Linked DNA regions of Homo sapiens: all the other regions are linked to region 2. The links are contacts of gene promoters, found by promoter capture Hi-C in blood cells and fetal thymus (Javierre and others, 2016). All regions are on one chromosome and are shown on one strand. The core of a region is centred on a gene start or on the middle of the fragment in contact, and the rest is flanking DNA. Distances in the headings are between cores, read along the strand shown. Region 1 overlaps IL17RD (interleukin 17 receptor D). Region 2 holds the start of ASB14 (ankyrin repeat and SOCS box containing 14). Region 3 overlaps DNAH12 (dynein axonemal heavy chain 12).

Evidence for each region. Contacts are between HindIII fragments. The CHiCAGO score rates a contact against its expected background, and 5 or more counts as called.
Region 1: a contact is called between a fragment that was not itself captured here and the fragment with the promoter of ASB14 in region 2, in 1 of 17 cell types (M1 macrophages). The highest score is 5.0, in M1 macrophages.
Region 3: a contact is called between a fragment that was not itself captured here and the fragment with the promoter of ASB14 in region 2, in 2 of 17 cell types (M1 macrophages and M2 macrophages). The highest score is 8.8, in M1 macrophages.

The regions. Positions count from the first base shown.
Region 1 is chr3:57,121,259-57,124,275 of GRCh38, forward strand. All of the region lies in intron 1 of IL17RD (interleukin 17 receptor D), which reads right to left. Among named protein-coding and RNA genes, the nearest start is that of IL17RD, 43 kb to the right of the region's middle. The HindIII fragment of the contact is 947 bases long and covers 958-1,904 here.
Region 2 is chr3:57,291,043-57,294,344 of GRCh38, forward strand. It overlaps ASB14 (ankyrin repeat and SOCS box containing 14), which reads right to left and starts at 1,643. Exons shown (of 11, transcript NM_001142733.3): 1 at 1,591-1,643; 2 at 870-1,062. The coding sequence starts at 991. DNAH12 (dynein axonemal heavy chain 12) reads right to left here. Exons shown (of 74, transcript NM_001366028.2): 74 at 2,658-2,929. The coding sequence ends at 2,739. LOC124909384 (a long non-coding RNA gene) reads left to right here and starts at 1,749. Exons shown (of 2, transcript XR_007095923.1): 1 at 1,749-2,350. The HindIII fragment of the contact is 5,614 bases long and covers 1,244-3,302 here.
Region 3 is chr3:57,515,871-57,518,796 of GRCh38, forward strand. All of the region lies in intron 4 of DNAH12 (dynein axonemal heavy chain 12), which reads right to left. Among named protein-coding and RNA genes, the nearest start is that of DNAH12, 27 kb to the right of the region's middle. The HindIII fragment of the contact is 202 bases long and covers 1,431-1,632 here.

The sequences.
Region 1 (3,017 bases), core at 181-2,680, 170 kb before region 2:
TGGCATTTAATGGGTAATTGTTACACCAAAACAAAATGTGGAGAACACTTCTGATGGAGCCCAGGGTTTTCAGCCACAACCACATGACATCCATATGCCACAGGCATCTTCACGCTGCTTATCCTGAAGCCAGGCACACCCACTGAAAGTGTATCCCTGAACTCAGATATACATGGGCCTTGGGAAAGCACAATTGGGCAGAGAGGGGCACATGGACACACCACCCACCCCCCACTCTAAGGTGAGGAATAAGTAACAGAAAACCTAAATCCACATGACACACCAGCCCACAATCTACTGAAGCTCCCCTTCTTCATAGTTCACCTTCCTTCTCCAGCTTTCCTCCTTCTAGCCTCTCTTCCCCACATATACAAGATTCCAGAACTCCTCACCTGAACTAAAACACTTTGGAAAGTGTTGTGAACTTATTAAAATCCTAAGAGTGTCTACAACTGCTTAGGGACAAGACCACAGTTTGTGCAACTAAAGGCTGCTCAACCTGCAGATGGCAGACACCACAGTAACACAACCAGGTAGGAGACCAGGAACGAGACAATCCAATCCCCCAAGACCAAAGCCCAAGATCCCCAAATCACACTGTTCTGTGCTCTTATAAGCCCCCAAGACATAAACTCACTCCCCATCTATTAGGAGCCAGACATTATGCTAGCTATGCTGGCAAACAAAACAGCCACTGTCCCCGCCCTCATGAAATGAATTAACATGGGGTTCATTATTTCAAAGAAGATTAACTGGGTAGGTAGATTATGTCCTAGGCATGCAGATAAATTTCAAATCACACCCTGGCCCTCCAAGAATGCCCAGTTTAGATGGCAAAACAAGGTATATATAGCAAGGGTGAAAGAGCCTGGCATAAGTAAGTACAGTGTATGAAATGCCACAAGACAGCCCTTGAGTAAGGATGAATGAAGGATGGGTAAGATAACAGATTCCAGAAGCTTAACAAGGAGAAGGATAACTGGGCTAGAATGAAGAGGAAAGCAGAGTAACATCATGGGAGGAAAAGAAAACTATAATCTAGAAGCCAAGGTTAGTACCTCAATCCTCCCATCCTCCACCGGATGCCCGATGGCAAACCACTCTACTCTAGGGGTCCCCAACCCCCGGGCCCTGGACTGGTCCTGGTCCATGGCCTGTTAGGAGCCAGGCCGCGCAGCAGGTGGGCAGTGGGAGAGCATTACCACCTGAGCTCCGACTCCTGTCAGATCAGCAGTGGCACTGGATTCTTATAGGAGCACAAACCCTATTGTGAACTGTGCATACGAGGGATCTAGGCTCTGTGCTCCTTATGAGAATCTAACTAATGCCTGATGATCTGAGGTGGAACAGTCTGATCCCGAAACCATCCCCTACTGACCCCCCAGTGCATGGAAAAATTGTCTTCCACGAAACTAGTCCCTGGTGCTAAAAAGGTTGGGGACCGCTGCTCTACACCACTGGGTCTGGGTCTCCTCAACTGTCTTTTTTTTTTTTTTTTTTTTTAAAGAATTTACATGGCTTTCCTCTAGGAGGTGGTTTTGAGGAAGATCAAATGAAGCCGGGTACAGGAGGGACTTCGCAAAAAGGAAACACATTCCATCTAACAATATGCTCCCTAGTGCATAGGGACCCTGGCGACCAATCACCTTACTTGTCAGATGTAGCTTTTTTTTTTGTTCCAGTTCCCTTATATTTGTTTGTTTGTTTCCTCTTATTCCTATTGCAACATGTTATTTGCAGGTACTTATTGGGCAATGGCCAATGCATTGTGGAAAGGAGCCCAAGACAGTGAGGTGTGCTATGCCATGCATTCAAGAACCTAAATCCCTCCAAATAAAGTCTCTGTGATGTGTGTGGAACTGTTCAGAGGGGGGTCCAGTGAGGCAGGCCTGGAAGGAAAGTGAAGCTTACCTGTGGCATCCATTCACTCTCTGCTGAGCATTCCACCTTGGCCTAAGACTCACAAGGCTGGGCACTCAGCTATGAAGCAGACCCAGGTCTTGACCTCAAGGGGCTCTGGCCACGTGCATATCTGCCCTCGCTCCCCTGCTTTGAGCCCTTCACTGGCTCCCTGTCCCTCCAGATCATTCCTGATGTGACACCTGCCTACCTTCCCAGTCACTCCCTCTTGCACCTTCTAAACCCTTTGGGCACTGCAGTTCTGCTCGGAAAATGTCCTTGGGCATGCCTGCATTCTCAGAATCCCCTCCTCTTCTCTTCCTATCACCCAGGTCCCCTCCCCTGGTGGGCTGCTTGCCGCATCACACTGTGTGTTCCTGACACATCGGTCTGACTGCTACTCACTTGAGGGGAACATGGTAATTCATTCCCACAATTTGAGTAGCATGGCACTTTTAGGGATGTAGATGCAAAATGGTAGTTCCAATTCCACAGAAAATCAGAGATCATAAGACCCCGTGGCCATCCACGCCGGGTCATGGAGCTCAGAAGCAGGAGAAAACATCCCAGGTATTAGTTCTTACATGCATTTTAAAGACCTTTTGGCTGCGCGTGGTGGCTCACACCTGTAATCTCAGCACTTTGGGAGGCCGAGGCAGGTGGATCACCTGAAGTCAGGAGTTTGAGACCAGCCTGACCAACATGGTGAAACCCCATCTCTACTAAAAATACAAAAAATTAACTGGGTGTAATGGCGGGCACCTGTAATCCCAGCTACTTGGGAGGCTGAGGCGGGAGAATCGCTTGAACCCGGGAGGCGGAGGTTGCAGTGAGCCGAGATCGCGCCATCGTACTCCATCCTGGGTGACAAGAACAAAACTCCATCTCAAACAAACAAACAAACAAAAACCTTTCATTCCTGGAATTCCTCAAGTGCACAGCTTCTCAGCACATGCATCACAGATGCTCTATAAGGCTGTCCTTAGCTCAACGCCCAAATAATACTTCAGCTGCTCTAGAGCCCTCAGAAACCACCTTAGCAATGGTATCCCAGGCTAGCCCATGGTGCACTTCTATTTTCCTTACACCTCAGGATAGGTAGAATGATAGCCCCTTAA
Region 2 (3,302 bases), core at 393-2,892:
ATAATAGGACCTACCTCATAGAGAGGTAATGAGAATTAGAATTTAAAAGTTAGTATTTATGAAGTGCTTAAAATAACATGACACATAGTGATCACTCCATGGTTTGTTACATTTTAAAAATACTATATAGGTTTGATGTACTTCATTGTCTCTATTTAGTTATGAAATCTCTTGGGGTTAAAAGACATTTTTCTAGTTTTACATCCAGCAGGCAAATAGAGATTACCATCCCAAGTAAACTGGGTTATCACCCCTGAAAAAATGATGGTTACTGCCTCAGGAGACCAAGGTTGCTGATTGGCCAGCGAGCGTGTGAGCAGGTGTGCCATATCCAGGACGATTCTTCTTACACCCCACACAGGGTCCCACTGGTCCTTTTTCAGTGTTGTCCAACAAAACTCTGAATCTACACTTTCAGAAGCCTTGTTCAAGTTTATGTAATTCCTCCTTTTGATTTGAGTAGATCAAAGACTGGACCCCATCCCCACCTACCCTACTAAGGTTGAAGATAACTAACTTTCTATGTGTCCCGGTTGGATTTATGCATTTCTTCAATTCCCAAAGACAAGATGTATTAGTTTTTCTCTAGCCCTTCATATCCTCCTTTCTTTCTTCTGATTTCCAGTCTGTATCACCTCACCCAGATTTGCTGCTAACCTCCTTCAGATATTTTTATTGCCTAATTAAATTCTGAATTATTTCCAGATTATTCCTGTCTAGTTAGGCATAATATCTTACAGATATTTAATTGACAGCTCCTTGGATTCTGACCCTCCTGTTTTTGTCACAACACTAGAGTTAAGCTAATGACAAGTGTCAGCTGTTGAATACAACACTTAATACTATATTGCCGATGAGAAAACCATTACCTCTCATCCTTAGGTGCATGTTGTGCTGTTCCTGGCTTATAAATATCCTGCAAACTCTGTTGAATGATGAGCTGGGTGTCAAAGTCTTCATCTATGTCTTCATCGCTGGTGTAATTATCCATGTGAAACGTGGACAGGTTTACTTTAAAGTCAGAGTGAATTAAAAGTATTTTTCCAGTTGTGAAGAGATCAACTGCTTAAAATTACAAATGAAATTCAGAAATCTAGAAAATTGGTAGGATTAACAATGAAAAATATACAAAATTTAGGAAACAAAATATTCACTAAAAAATTTCTATAAACTTAAAAAAGTTTTGTGGACTGCCACAGATTCAACAAAAATTAGAAGTTTCCATGAGTAGCCATTGACTTAAAGCTTATTCAGGAAAAACCACCTTTCAAATAAGACTTCGGTTAGTGCCACTCTAACACTGACAACACTCTGATCTGTTCAACTTGGCTGTGAGTCTTTCACAGTGATTGTAGCACTCATCCAAAATAATATCTTTCCTACACACAGTGTGATGCTGAAAATAATATTTTACTTAATATACATTAAAAATAAACATGTTATAGGAACAAATGTATTCTCATAATTACAACATGGATACAGCAGTAGTAAAAACAAATGTATCTTACTAGGCAATATCTAAATGGTTTTAAAAGAAAAATGTCAGTTTTAGCATAGAATACATTTGGTCACATTTCAAAGACTTTTTACCTTTTGTTTTATCCTCTAGGACAGCAGTGAAGTTTTCACTGTTAAGGACTAACACATGTAAGCCTCAGAATTTTCATTTATATTTAGGCTCTCCTCTCCCCTGTAGTGACCATTCCATTAATAGCTTTACTATAAATACTTCATCATAAGACAGTTTGGCACATTCTCCTTGTTTTTTACATGTGGTTTAGCTCTTTTTGGAAACATGATCTCTTTTCTTCAGTGCTACATTCATCAAATTTAAAGGATTAAATATTTTATTCCTGGAATAAAATGCTTTTGCAGGGGGTTGGCCATGCAAAGAGAATTCATGCACATAGCCACTGCAAACCACAATCAATTTTTCACTTAAGAGAACCCAAACATTTTGCTCTGACCCAATTATCCAAAGTGACTGTCCCAATGTACTAGATTCACTAGGTAGCTGTGACTACATTTTCCTTGGGTTACAGAACTGTGGCCTTCAGTGTCCTTGGAATCCTAAGGGAAGAATTCACTCTACACAAGATAAAATTTTGATCAAAATTCTGTTTTGTTGAAATATTTTTAAATTGTTAATATACACTAAAAAAAGCAAAGGGACCACTTGACATTTCAAATTAAATATGAAGCAAATGCCGAGAAGCACACTGTCACTGCAGGTGTAGAAGTTCGGACTGCCCTCAAGCCATCCTACTGCCTTTGCAGGCCAACTTCGCAGCTTTGAGTTTCCTTTCCTAGTCACAAGGATGCAGTGAGAAATGGAACCGATGTCTTAGAGGTAAGAAATAAAGAGGTATAGTTGGGTAACTTTTAATATTTTCCATATTTATAATTTCTTAATTTATGTATTTGAAATATTTATGTATAATTACTTTAGGTAGGAGAGTGGAAAGTAAACTATACTGAAGCTGAAGGAATGACTTAACATTTGTGAAGGAGATAATTCCTGATATTTGTTAAATGTTACCGTTTAACCCCCAAATCTATTTTTCACATACAATCAAACTTCAAAAAGTTCTCCTCAGAAAGGAGAACAATGCAATGAGTGTTTGCAAAGATCATTTAAAAGAATAACACCAAAACACTTGGTTTTATAATGTATATATTTTAAGTAGGACAGGTTTTTTTTTTTTTAAACTTTTGGATGTTTTATAAATTTGTCCAATTTAGTCATCCAACTGACAAAGCAAAGCAACCCCGCGCTTGATCCAGTGCCGAGTAGGTTGGTCTGTTTTTAACAACATTGCAATGACAAAGTTAGTAGAATGTCCCGTAGTGGAAAGAGTTCCTTTACGTTCACTTGTCTTGTAGAGGGGACAGACATAGGCATCCGACTTTATAATCCGAGATTTTTGAGCTTGAAAAAAAAAAAGAAATATATTCACTTGATAAAGGGAAAAACAGCCATTGGTACGAAAAGAACTATTTATCTTGTAATAAAATGGCCAGAACTAAATCTAAGATCATAATTGTGATATATGAAGGTTTTACAGCATATATATTTTTTTACAGTACATATAGTATTACGGTTGTGAAACAAGGCAAGTATTTCTTTTCTTTTCTTTTTTTTTTTTTTTTTGGAGACTGAGTCTCACTCTGTCACCTAGGCTGGAGTACAGTGGCACAATCTCGGCTCACTGCAACCTCTGCCTCCCAGGTTCAAGCGATTCTCTTGTCTCAGCCTCCTGAGTAGGTGGGACTACAGGTGCCTGCCACCATGCCTTGCTAAT
Region 3 (2,926 bases), core at 282-2,781, 220 kb after region 2:
TTTTTTGCAACTTTTCCGTATGTCTAAAATTATTTTGAGATAAAAAGATTTTTTAAATGTGTAGCCTAGATGGACATTTTTTCTTTTGTCTCTTACTTTTATTTTTTTTCAATTAGTTGCTCACTCCAAAATTCTTACAGAAAGACATTTTCTATGTCCACTCCATTAATGTACTGCTTAGTCTTTTTTTTTTTTTTTTTTTTTTTTTCTTCAGATGGAGTCTCCCTCCGTCGCCCAGGCTGGAGTGCAATGGCATGATCTTGACTCACTGAAACCTCCACCTCTTGGGTTCAAGTGATGTTCCTGCCTCAGCCTCCTGAGTAGCTGGGATTACAGGCGTGGGCCACCATGCCCGGCTAATTTTTTTCTTTTTAGTAGAGATGGGGTTTCACCATGTTGGTCAGGCTGGTCTCGAACTCCTGACCTTGTGATCCATCCGACTCGGCCTCCCAAAGTGCTGGGATTACAGGCATGAGCCACCATGCCCGGCCCATGTACTGCCTAATCTTAAAATTCTTGTGTGATAGTCCCCAGTCCCTCACTATATCAATGGGCTGACCTCTGTCTAGCAATGAAATTGGTCCTCTCCCTACTCCAGCTCTTCCCTCCTCTCTAGATGATCTTAATAATAAGTGTCGCCAATTACCCTGCAAAATCAGACCAAAGCCTAAGAATCATCCTTGGTTCCTCTTTTTCTCACTGCCCACATGCACCCTACCTGCAAGTCCTGTCGCATTTACATCCAAAATATGTCCTGAATCTAACAATTTCTCTCTAGCTCTATTGCTATCACTCTAGTCTAAACTATTCTCTCTCACCTAGACTGTTATCTTGTACAACTACCTGGTTCTTCCTTTATACTTTTGCCGTAGCCACAATCCATCTTCTAAAGAATCTAAGTGGCCTTTTTCATATAATTGTCAAAGTGACTTTTTATCATTAAAAGTAAATCAAGTTATGTTATCCCCATGGGTAGAATCCTCCAATGACTTCCAATTGCCACTCTGAGTAAAATCCAAGCAACTTATCATAGCCTACAAGGCCCTCATCTCTGGCTCCTGACCCCCTTTTCAAGTTTATTTTATACTTTCCCATGAGCTCAATCAGCAGCTGGCCTTCTTTCAGTTCCTGGAACATACCCAGTTGTTTTCTCCTTCAGGTGACTTAAACTTAGCTGTTCCCTCTGTTGGGAAATTCTCAACCCCAGGTCTTTCCACGGCTGGCTCCTTTCTACCATTCAGGTCTCCATAAATGTCACCACCTCAGGGACGCCTTCTCTAACCACATGCCTAATATGGCCCCACTCCCTCACCAGTCACTATCTACCATATTACCCTGTATTTCCTTCACAGTACTTATCACAATTTTATTTATTAAATGAAATAGAAAAATTTTATTTAATTATTATATGTCTTCCTCATTAAAGTATAAGCTTCATAAGGGCTTATATGTCCATCTTGTCCATCAATCTTCAGCATCTAGCACAGGATCAAGTATGCATAGATATTTGTTAAGAATCTCATGAATAAATAAATTATACAGACAAAGATGATATTTTCTCAATACCCCAAACCTATAGCAGTTCTAGAAAGCAGGTCAGGGTCAAGCACTGAAATATTAGATAGAAAACTAAGCTTGAATAAAATTATTATATGACTATATAGTGAAAGGAAATTTATTGAATGTGGTTTTTGTTGCAGAAAAAAAGAAAGAAAAAATGAAATTTAAATTCATTATTCTAATTATGTATCTATAACTTATACCTTTCTAAAACCATTTCATCTCCTAAAATAAAAATATGTTTGACCCTTAGAATTAAAGTATATAATCTTCCTTAGCAAAACACTATCTAAGTCAAGTGATGTACTTTCAAAATTTTTCTTGAAAACTCCCTGGCCCAGCACGGTGGCTCATGCCTGTAATCCCAGCACTTTGCGAGGTAGAAGCAGGTGGATCCCTTTCAGCTCAGGAGTGAGAGACCAGTCTGGGCAACATGGGGAAACCCCACCTCTACAATAAATAAATAAATAAAAATTATCCAAGCGTGGTGCCTCACATCTGTAGTCCCAGCTCCTCGGGAGGCTGAGGCTAAGAGATTGCTTGAGCCTGGAAAGCAGATGTTGCAGTAAGCCAAGATCACTCCCCTGCACACCAGCCTGGGTGACAGAGTGAGAAACTGTCTCAAAAAACAGAAAACATAAAAAAAAAAACTTTCTATATTATGCCCTCACTGTAGTCTCTTCACACTTCTATTATAACAGCTGTTACATTTTACTGAACATGTGTTTTTATATTTATTCATTCATCAATCATTCATTAAGTAACTATTTTTAGTGCTCGATATCATAGTAGTTGATTAAGAAGCAATTCCTGGCCGGGCACGGTGGCTCACACCTGTAACCCCAGCACTTTGGGAAGCTGAAGCAGGTGGATCACTGGAGGTCAGGAGTTTGAGACCAGCTTGGCCAACATGGTGAAACCCTGTCTCTACTAAAAATATAAAAAATTAGCCAGGCATGGTGGCATGTGCCTGTAATCCCAGCTATTTGGGAGCCTGAGGCACAAGAATTGCTTGAAGCCGGGAGGTGGAGGGTGCAGTGAGCTTAGGTTGCCCCACTGGATTCCAGCCTGGGTGACAGAGCAAGACTACTCTGTCTCAAAAAAAAGAAAAGAAAAGAAAAGAAAGAAAGAAAAGCTGCTGTTGGCTGCTGTGGTCAAGATAAGAGATGAAGCTCTGATCTAAGGCTAGGACAAGAAAATGACTGTTTTGAGAACTATATAGAGCTCTTGGGAACTAAGCATATGGGAGGGAGGTAGTTGGGGAAGGGGAACAAGAAGTTCAGATTCAGATATTTTAAGCATGAGTAACCGGATTGATGGTGATAACAACTAGAATAGAAAATGTGCAAGAGGAGTCTTATGGAGG